Regions from separate parts of the Homo sapiens genome. Here regions 2 and 3 are each linked to region 1. Evidence: promoter capture Hi-C in 16 types of primary human blood cells and fetal thymus (Javierre and others, 2016). All regions are on one chromosome and are shown on one strand. Each heading gives the region's core, a stretch centred on a gene start or on the middle of the fragment in contact. The rest is flanking DNA. Distances are from core to core; before and after follow the strand shown.

Region 1 (3,459 bases), core at 813-3,312:
GGAAATATAGTGGTAAATAAAACCAGCAATGATCCTGCCTCCTTACCGATTCCATTACAAAGGGAGAGAGAGAAAATAAACAAACAAAAATATAAAATGTTGTGCTCTAGAAAAAAAAATATTAAGCAGTATAAGGGGATTTGAGGCAAATAAGTGAGGCTGGAGAGCTCTACATGGGGCAATCAAGGAAGACTGCCCTGAGGAGGGGACATTTAATCAGAGATCTGAATGGAGTGATTAAAGCATGAAAAGGACTTGGGCTGCACTGACCAATACGGTAGTCACTAGCCATACACAGTTATCAAACACAAGAAATGTGAATAGTGTAAATTGAGAAGTGTGGTAAATGTAAAACATATACTAAATTCCAGACTTAGTACCAAACAAGGAATGTAAAAATATCAATAATAGGTAAATATATATTAAAATTTTAAACATTATTTTAAATACGCTAAGTTAAATAAAACTATTATCGAAATTAAATTCACTTGTTTCTTTTTTTAATGAGGCTACTAAAAACTTTAAAAGTACATATGTGGCTCACATAATATTGCCAATGGATAGCACTGATCTAGCATTCTAGGTAGAAGAAATAGCCAGTGCAAAGGCCCTGTGGTAGAAAGCTGTTCTAATGGCAATGGAGAGTTATTAAAAGTTTTTAAGGAGAGTAATTTGTTAGATTGAAGCCTAAGGAAAAATAATAACAACAAATGCAAGTACATAACAAACAAGAACGTGCAGAATGAATTAAAGGAAGAAGACTGGAATCAGGAAAGCAGTTAGTGTGTAAGAGTCAATGCCAGGGGAAATGAGGGCCTGCCTTACAGTGGAACTAAGGGGATGGGCAGGGATGGACAGGCTTCAGGGACTGACAGGAAAAGGTACATGGGGAAAAGAAGTCAAGTTTGGCTGTGGTTTTATCTCGCAGTGAGCCTAATTAGAAAATCTATCTCCATTAACCTAACAGCAGAGGGATACAGAGAAGAGGACAAGGAGGAGGACTATGGGCAGGGAATTGAGGGAAGGGATGGCTTCAAGATAATGAATTAGTCTTTGCTAAATATTACTTGATTTTCTCCTATATCCTCAACTTCAGGACTGCAGCTGGCTTTTTCTCTCTTGAGTTTCTGACCCTGCCTCACTGTAAATCATTTTCTTAGCTGTTCGGCTCTACTATGGGTTTCTAAAGCAACTGTGAAGTCTGCGCAGGGGAAAAACAAAAGAGATCCATCATGAATAAGATTACCAACCAGCTGATTGGTATTTCACTAAGAAAGAAACTGTTGCATTAGCTGACATTATACATATTTCCCTCTTGCTTTTTTCTTCTCTCTCTCTCTCTTTTCCTTTTTCATTCTCTTATTTTTTTCATCCTCTGGACTAAACTATATTACTGCATACAGAAGTCTGACACCCACTTAGAAAGTTCTTTCTCTAGAGACACACACACAAAAGCCATCTTTTTCCTGAGATTGAAAGGAGCAGGGTGACTGCTTGAAGCTGAGTGTAAAGACCACCAGTGGGAAGAAATGACACTGAAGCAGTCTGCTTACTCTCTAGTGAAGAAGGTATTATAATTCTCTTACAGATGCGAAAACTAGTCTCAGACAGGTTTGATAATTTCTTCACAGAGCCACAAGGTAGCAGAGCAGGGACCTTAAGCAGATCTATGTTATCTCATGCCCCTGTTAGCACTCAAAATTTCCAAATGGAACAAACCCCCAATGGCTGCCTCTAGTGCCCTGTAACAATGAATTATTTGATCTCTGTGGCTTCTTGAGTCTTTAAGGTAATTTAACTCTTTTTTTTTTTTGCAAAAATAAACAAACCAGGGCACACAGTGAGAAGTTCTGGGCAGAAGTGAGGGAAAGTTCAGAGGAGCTGACTCCAGCCACATACCTCCACGCAGGGCTCCCAGCTTTCTGGTCTCACGCAGGAGAGGAAGGCCATGGCTGGGATCAGAGTCCCAGCCAGGCGCGAGGCAGACATCATCCTGGCATCATCCTCACTGCTTCTGTGAGCAGCAGTGGCCCTGTGAATGCGTGGCTCGCTATCACCGTCTGACCGAGCAGTTTCTGAGGCACTGGTGTCTTCTCTTCCTCGAGCCGCCCCACAGCAATTGGTGTATTCAAAGCAGTTCTGGGCTAAAGGGTGAGAGGAAGTGAAAGCGGCAACCTTAGCATTCTGGACTTTTGTTTCTCTAATAGTTATCTCTTTTGTCACAGGAGAGGAAGTTAGAAGAAGAAAACGCCTGCAGACCAGTGGCTAAAGAAACAGCAAGAGGAAGCTAGTTGGCTTTTATCCCAATTAGTCATCTGACCTCTGCCTGGGCTTGGTGAATTTAGGAAAACAATCAGGTTCTATTAAAATAGCCCTTGTAACTCTCTAGGATGACGGTGATTTTCCAATTTTGTTTCAGCTGTGGAAACACTATTTGTATTAGTTTGCTGGGGCTGCCATAAGGAAATACCACAGACTGGGTGGCTTAAACAACAGACATTCATTTTCTCACAATTCTAGAGGCTTCCAGTCTGAACTCAAGGTGTCAGCAAGTGTGTCTGAATTCTAATCTCCCCTTCTTATAAGGACACCAGTTATGTTGGATTAGGGCCCACCATAATGACCTCATTCTACCTTACATACCTCTTTCAAGGCTCTCTCTCCATATACAGTCATAGTCTGAGGTAGAGGGGTTAGGACTTCGATATGTAGGTTTTTGCAGGACACAATTTGGCCCGCCCCTTCTTGTGAAGAAACTCACATACAAAACTGAAAATAAACCTCAACTGAAACACAGTTTGAAAAGTACAAGAAGATTGGGAAAAGTCTGGGATTTCAGAATGGAATATACTGAAGTTCAGATCTCAGCTGGGTGACTCATGGCTTTGAGGCATTGGTCAAGTCATGTAAACCGCTAAGCTTTACTTTCTTTCTTTTCTTTTTTCATTTTCTGTATTATGGTAAAATCACATAACATAACATGACATAACATAAAATTTATTATCTTGACCATTTGTATGTGTACAATTTAGTGGCATTAATTATGTTCATATTTTTGTACAATCATCACCACTATTCATTAATAAATAACTCCCCATTTCCCCTTTCCCTAGGCCCTTGAATCTATGCACTACTTTTGTCTCTATAATCTTGACTACTCTAGGCAGCTCTTAGAAGTGGAATCATACAGTATGTATCTTTTTGTCACTGGCTTATTTCACTTTGCATAATGTCCTCAAGGTTCTTTTCTGTGTAGTATAGATCAAAGCCTCCTTCCTTTTTAAAGCTGAACAATATTCCATTGTATGTATAGACCACATTTTGCTTATCCATTTGTCTGTTCATGGACACTTGCATTGTTGCCACACGTTAGCTATTGTGAATAATGCTGCCATAAACATGGTTGTACAAATATCTCTTAAAGTCTCTGTTTTCAATTCTTTTGGATACGTACTCAGA
Region 2 (3,565 bases), core at 148-2,647, 830 kb before region 1:
ATGTGGTGAGGCCCTTTGCCAAACAGGAATGAGAACTTTCAAGGCATTGTTTAAACAGGGAGATTTTCCTGTCCAAATACACTGTCTAGAAATTATTGCCCAGTCACTTAGGTTGAAATTATTCTTATCTGCACTTTAGATTAATAAATTCTTGTTCATATATATATATGTGTGTGTGTGTGTGTGTGTGTGTATAGTCTCACTTTAATTATGTTTTCTTATGATCAATGCTGTAAAGTGCAAGGATTCCTGGCTCCATAGCTTTTGCCTCAGTTTCCTCATTTATAAAATAGAGTTAATTATAATAGTTGATGTGAAGATTGAATGGGTTAATTTACTTAAAAATGTCCAAAGCAGTGCCTGTCACATAACTGGCACTACATAATTATTTGCTTTAATAGCTATCATCTGAAAGCATAAAATTCCAACAGAATAAGTGATTTAAAGTGTCCCAGTGCCACATAACCATGTATGACGTGCAGGTGGAGGGTGATGGTCAGTGATGTGCATGAATACTGGGAGATAATATTGTTGGTAGTAAAACTAAGGGCTTAAAGGGCAATTCTTGCAGGTGATGGAAATTTGATAAAATTAATAAAAGAATCTTAAAAGATAAGTGTGATGGTTAATATTGAGTGTGAACTTGATTAAATTGAAGGATGCAAAATATTGTTCCTGGATGTGTCTGTGAGGATGCTGTCAAAGGAGATTAACATTTGAGTCAGTGGACTGGGAAAGGCAGACCCACCCTCAATCTGGGTGGGCACAATCTAATCAGCTGAGCTGCCAGAGTGTCCAGAATAAAAATGAGGCAGAAGAATGTGAAAAGACTAGACTGGCTTAGTCTCCTGGCCTACATCTTTCTCCTGTGCTGGATGCTTTCTGCCCTCAAACATTGTACTCCTAGTTCTTCAGCTTTGAGACTCTTGGACCTTCGACCACAGACTAAAGGCTGCACTATTGGCTTCCCTACTTTTATTGAGACTCGGACTGGCTTCCTGTCTCCTCAGCTTGCAGACGGCCTATTGTGGGACCTCACCTTGTGATAGTATGAGTCAATACTCCTTCATAAACTCCCCGTTATATATGCATCTAACCTATTAGTTCTGTCCCTTTAGAGAACTCTAATACAATGAGGAATATAATAGAATTAAATAAAATCTTAGTTTCAAGTTCAGAAGAACATTGGCCACACCCTGTCTTCCAAAGTATTTCATCACTCCACGCAGCAGTTAACAGTAGAACATGGCCTAAACCTGAAGATCAACAATGGGTGGATAACCTAAGGGTTCTCCAAAGTTTAGATTGAAGAATGTCTTTCTTCTCTAACTTCTCAAACTTCTCTAACACTTTCTCACTTTCCTACTCAGAGTCTATATTTCTTCACAGGTAATTTTATGTTATTCTCCTCTGTTATGCAAAGTTCTGATTACTTCTGCCAGAACAAATCTGTTTTTGCTTTATTTTCTTTCTTTTTTTTTTTTTTGAGACAAAGTCTCACTTTGTCTCCCAGGCTAGATTTCAGTGGGCATGATCTCAGCTCACTGCGATCCCCACCCTCCTGGGTTCAAGCAATTCTCCTGCCTCAGCCTCCCTAGTAGCTAGGTTTACAGGCACCTGCCACCACACTCAGCTAATTTTTGTATTTTTTAGTAGAGATGAGGTTTCACCATGTTGGTCAGGCTCGTCTCAAACTCCTGACCTCAGGTGATCTACCCGCCTCGGCCTCCCAAAGTGCTGGGATTACAGGCGTGAGCCACTGCACCCAGCCTGCTTTAATTTCAAAGCACATCCGGTAGACTAAAATTCAGCACATAATATCATGTATTATCATTGTCTTCCTTGTATAAGTGAAGTAAAGAAAAGTAAAGATATAACCTAAGAACTGGATTTAGGTAGTTATATATTTATCAACTAATATACAGAAATCTTAATGAATTGGCTAATTCTGTGTAACTAGCAAACTCTAGAGCTTTAATTTAGATCCAGATGCATTACACAAAAACCCATCTGCTTTATAGAGTGTGTTAGTAGTGTTTTTTAAAGTTGCTTCATATTATAATAAATCTAACATCATCAGTAGGAAGTATAAATTCTTGATTGGGACCTAGTAATTACCTAGTAATTACCAGGAGAGACCTGGTAATCTCTTCAGTGAACAAGTGCTTTCAGATGATTGTTAAACTGTTAAAGAAGTTTAAAGACACTGGTTGTAGGGATGGAAAAGGAAAGCATGAAAAACATCTATGCATAGAAAGAGAGGTGGACATGTTTGATGGATCTGCATCCATTTCCAATTAAGCAAATTTTAGAAAACAAATATGTTTAAATAATGTTAGAAAATATAGTAAACCATTCCGGGGAGGGAAAAACAAAAAAATAAGTCAAATAGAACTGATGGAGCTCACATATACCAGACAATCTTGGAAGGCTAAATGCCCAGCAGAGATTACAGGATACCCCAGTTTCTGTGATATGATCAGCCATTTCCAAGAGTCACAATTCCTCTCTAGGGAAGGACGAGGCCTTAGGCATAAAGGGTACAACTGAAATAATGCTTTCAGAGAAGAGAATGTAAAAAAATGCGCCCCGAGATAATTTTCCAAGCCGACAATGGGGATTGAAGGGAGGAGAGAAAGTCATTTTCAGGTCAATAATCCCTACTGCACAGCCACTGTGAGCTGTGTGAATCACTGAGCACATTTCAAGGAACGGCTGTCATGTGTCTCTAACTGATTCTCACTGCAGATGGACTCCAGGGTACTTGGGATCTATTTTGAGGAGGCTGCAAGCAGTAGAAGCCTGCTGGTTCCACTGTAAGAAAACCTCAGCCACCCTTGAAAATGTGGGGAAATAAAAACCTTCAGTCCAAGCACATTTCCCCCTTGTTATGATACATATTTCTTATATTTCTTTTCCTCCATTACTGATCTCACCCTCCCTTCTCTGTGCTCCTTCTGTAGGCAACGCTATCATTTTTCTTTCTCCTAAGTCTGTGGGCAAAACATGCAACTTGGAGTTTTCTACATACCCTGAAAGAAGAGAACAAAACAAGAGTTCATGTACATATTATATGTTTTTGTCAGTCCGCAGTCATAAAATCCTCCCAGGGGCAAATATTTCTCTCTTTCTCCATTCCCCAGGTGAATGTTGATACTCAGGGCTACCTTAGAAACCTTCTATGGAAGTTGGAAAATCCTTCTTATCTGTGGTTCTTGTGGTAGGCAGAATAATGGCACTTACTCACTAAAGGTGTCCGTGAACTAATCCCTGGACCTATGAGTACACAACCCTCCATGGCAACGGGATTTTGCAGATGTGACCAAATACAAATATTGAGATAGGGAGATGGTCCTGGATTATCTGAGTGAGTCAATATAATCACAAAGATCCTTAAAGGAGGAAGGGAAGATGGTCAGGGCAGGAGAAGGAAATGTGACAACAGAAATAGAGGCTGGACTGAGAACAATGCAGCTCCACAAACAAAAGGCAAGGAAACAGATTCTTCTCCAGAAGGAGTACAGACTTGTCAGCCAATTTTAGACTTCTCACCTCAAGAACTGTA
Region 3 (3,329 bases), core at 120-2,619, 900 kb before region 1:
AAAAAGACAAGGGAATAATTTCTCTTCTACAGCTTCCAGAAGGAACTGCCAACCCATTTTAGGACTTCTGATCTCCAGAATTATAAGAGAATAAGTTTTTAAGCCACTAAATTTGTGCTAAATTGTTACAGTGACAATAGAAAACTAATTATCTCTCTCTCTCTAAATATATAGATATATATGTGTGTGTATGTTATATACACAGGAAGTATATGTAATTACATACACACACTCACAGACACACCCACTCATATAAGGACGCTTATTTTAACATTGTTGCAAGTGTCAAAAACTGGAAAAAAGGCAAATTCCATTCAGTATTAGAGGGGATGAACATTGCACTACACTACAGAATATGTCCAAACTGCAGAATTCTTTCAAGCAAGTAAAATATCAGTTATAGCTACAACAATTTACTTGGAGAATATCCCAAATGTATTATTGAAAAACTCAAGATGTTAAAAGTGTATGTAATACAACCCTATTTTTTTAATGAACCAAGATGGTAGTATTCATTTTTAACAAACAGAAACATAGTATTTACATTACTGCTCATCTTTGCATTCTTTCTTTATATACACATACTATATATAAATCATACCTATTCTAACATATATGTATGTACATATATATGTTGAATATGGCAAAAATGCATAAAATTATATCAAGGTGTTGTCATGATTACTTAGTTGTGAGTGGGGTGGGGGGAAAGCCTGGTATCAAATTGGTTGGAGGGAAAATAAGAGAGGAGGAGCACATAGAAAGCCAAGCTTAAAAAGAAAGGCTGTAAAATATAATTCTGATAATATAAATTATATATATGTAATTACATGTGTATTAAAAATTAGTGGGTTACATATTATAACCATGTGCATTTCCCTGTGGGGTTGCATATAGCTTATTTTTAAGTGGAGAAAAAAAATGCAGAGATGTAGTATAATGTAAATAATGTAATTATATATGGTAAAAAATTAACAAACATATGTATTGTATGATTCAATTTATATAATATTCTTAAAATGACAAGATTTTATGTATTTATTTATTTTTGAGACAGAGTCTCACATTGTCTCCCAGGCTGGAGTGTGGTGGCATGATCTTGACTCACTGCAGCCTGTGCCTCCTGGGTTCAAGTGAGTCTCCTGCCTCAGCCTCCCTAGTAGCTGGGATTACAAGCATGCCCCACCATGTCCAGCTAATTTTTGTATTTTTAGTAGAGACAGGGTTTCACCATGTTGACCAGTCTGGTCTTGAGCTCTTAACCTCAAGTGATCCATCCACCTCGACCTCCCAAATTGCTGGGATTACAGGCATGAGCCACCACACCCGGACAAATGACAAGATTTTAGAGATGTGTAACAGATTTATGGTTGGCAGAAATTAAAGAAGGGGAGAAGGAAAGGAGGAGGGGATGGATGTAACTATAAAATGGTAGCATGAGGGAATGTTGTGGTAATGAGACAGATCTATATTTCAATTATTGTTGTAATTACATGAATATGCATGCTATAAAATTACATAGAGCTACCCAAATTTACACACTCACACACATGAGTGCCTGTAAAGCTGGTGAAAACTGAATAAGTTTTCTGGACTGCATGACTGTTTGATATTATACTATAATTATGTAAGATGTTATTGACAGAAACCAGGTGAAGGGTACACTGAGCCCCTCTGTACTATTCTTATGAATAAACTTCTGTGAATCTATAATTATTTCAAAATAAAAGTTTTTTAAATGAACAAACAAAACTCTTAAATATTTGCAAATGCTTGCATAGGTCAGTATAATCAAAGAGAAATATGAGGAAAGATATATAGTACATGGTTATCTTTGGTTACTTTAGTAAGGAAGAATTGGATAGAGAAATGTTAGGTAACTGGTTATACTTTTTTTGCATTTATTACAACAATTTTTGTATCATAAAATAGGGCAAACAAATATGTTTAAAAAATGAATTAAGCTTTTGATTAAAATTTTAAATAATGAAGTAGACATGAAATATTTTCCGGTTTTATTTTCTTTTGTTTTAACTATCAAGTAACTACTATTTTCTTATCAAAAATTGATGACTCATCAGTATATTCTCAGGATCACTATGCATTAATTAATGCAAAATATTTATTAAGAACCTATTATAAACCAACTATAATAACGGGCCATTGTTGTACAGAGAAAATGTGAGGATTTTTTCTTCCTGCATTTGAAGAATTTATAATTCAGTGGGAAGCAAGACTGGAGAGATGGGAAAGCTACTACCAACAGGCTTCCTACCTTACTCCATTATAGTTTAGCTCTAAAGGAGACATCCCTGAGCTAATATTTCAAAATAGCTAGAAGAGAGAATTTGAAATGTTTCCAGCACATGGAAATGATAAATGTTGGAGGTGATGGATATCCTAAATGCTCTGACTTGATCATTATACATTCTATGTATGTAGCAAAATATCACATGTACTCCATATATTTATGTCTAAATATTGTATATTAATTTAAAAAGAGGAACAGAAATAGTTTAAGATAATCTGTATTTTTTGTTCATCATACAACTAATAAGTACTAATTGCTTTTAAGACACTGGAAAGATACAGAAAAAATATGCAGAGACAGTCATAAACATTTTGGATTCTTTCCTTTTGCTCTTACATATAATATAACAGAATTATATTTATATAGTAGACTACAGTGTAGTCTTATAATACATTATACTTTGGAGGGGTTTAACATTTAAATTAAATTAAAACAAATTATCAGTAATTTTCATTTTTTCTAATACTCTTAGAAACATCTTTTATTTCTGTTTTTAATAGCTTTATTGAGGGGCAATTGATACATAAAATACTGCACATGTTTGATATCTACAATTTGACGTGCTTGAACATATATATACACACATGAAACCATCCCCACAATCAAGGTAATAAACATACACACCACCCCCAAAAGTTTCTTTCCACTCCCTTTTTTTGAGTGTGTAGTAAAAACGCTTAACTTGAGATCTACTCACTCAAACATTTTCCATGTATAGTATTGTTTTGTTTTGCTTTGTTTTGTTTTTTGAGACGTAGTCTCACTCTGTCGCCAGGCTGGAGTGCAGTGGTATGATCTCAGCTCACTGCAACCTCCGCTTCCCGGGTTCAAGCGATTCTCCTGCCTCAGTCCCCAAGTAGCTGGGACCACAGACACGCACCACCATGCCCAGCTAATTTTTGTATTTTTAGTACAGATGGGGTTGGTCAGGATGCTCTCGATCTCTTGACCTTGTGATCTGCCCATCTTGGCCTCCCAAAGTGCTGGGATTACAGGCGTGAGCCACTGCACCCAGCCA

What was found. The method cuts DNA at HindIII sites, captures the fragments that hold promoters and counts their contacts. A CHiCAGO score of 5 or more calls a contact.
Region 2: a fragment that was not itself captured here is called in contact with the fragment with the promoter of TLR4 in region 1 in 1 of 17 cell types (endothelial precursors); the score reaches 5.3 in endothelial precursors.
Region 3: a fragment that was not itself captured here is called in contact with the fragment with the promoter of TLR4 in region 1 in 1 of 17 cell types (endothelial precursors); the score reaches 5.7 in endothelial precursors.

Annotation. Positions count from the first base shown.
Region 1 is chr9:117,703,006-117,706,464 of GRCh38, reverse strand. It overlaps TLR4 (toll like receptor 4), which reads right to left and starts at 2,062. Exons shown (of 3, transcript NM_138554.5): 1 at 1,900-2,062. The coding sequence starts at 1,992. RefSeq lists enhancers at 177-1,376, 1,492-1,992, 1,963-2,032, 2,043-2,092, 1,993-2,493 and 1 more. The HindIII fragment of the contact is 5,259 bases long and covers 1-2,921 here.
Region 2 is chr9:118,535,517-118,539,081 of GRCh38, reverse strand. No RefSeq gene overlaps it. Among named protein-coding and RNA genes, the nearest start is that of LINC02578, 140 kb to the left of the region's middle. The HindIII fragment of the contact is 4,666 bases long and covers 1-3,565 here.
Region 3 is chr9:118,605,611-118,608,939 of GRCh38, reverse strand. No RefSeq gene overlaps it. Among named protein-coding and RNA genes, the nearest start is that of LINC02578, 72 kb to the left of the region's middle. The HindIII fragment of the contact is 1,194 bases long and covers 773-1,966 here.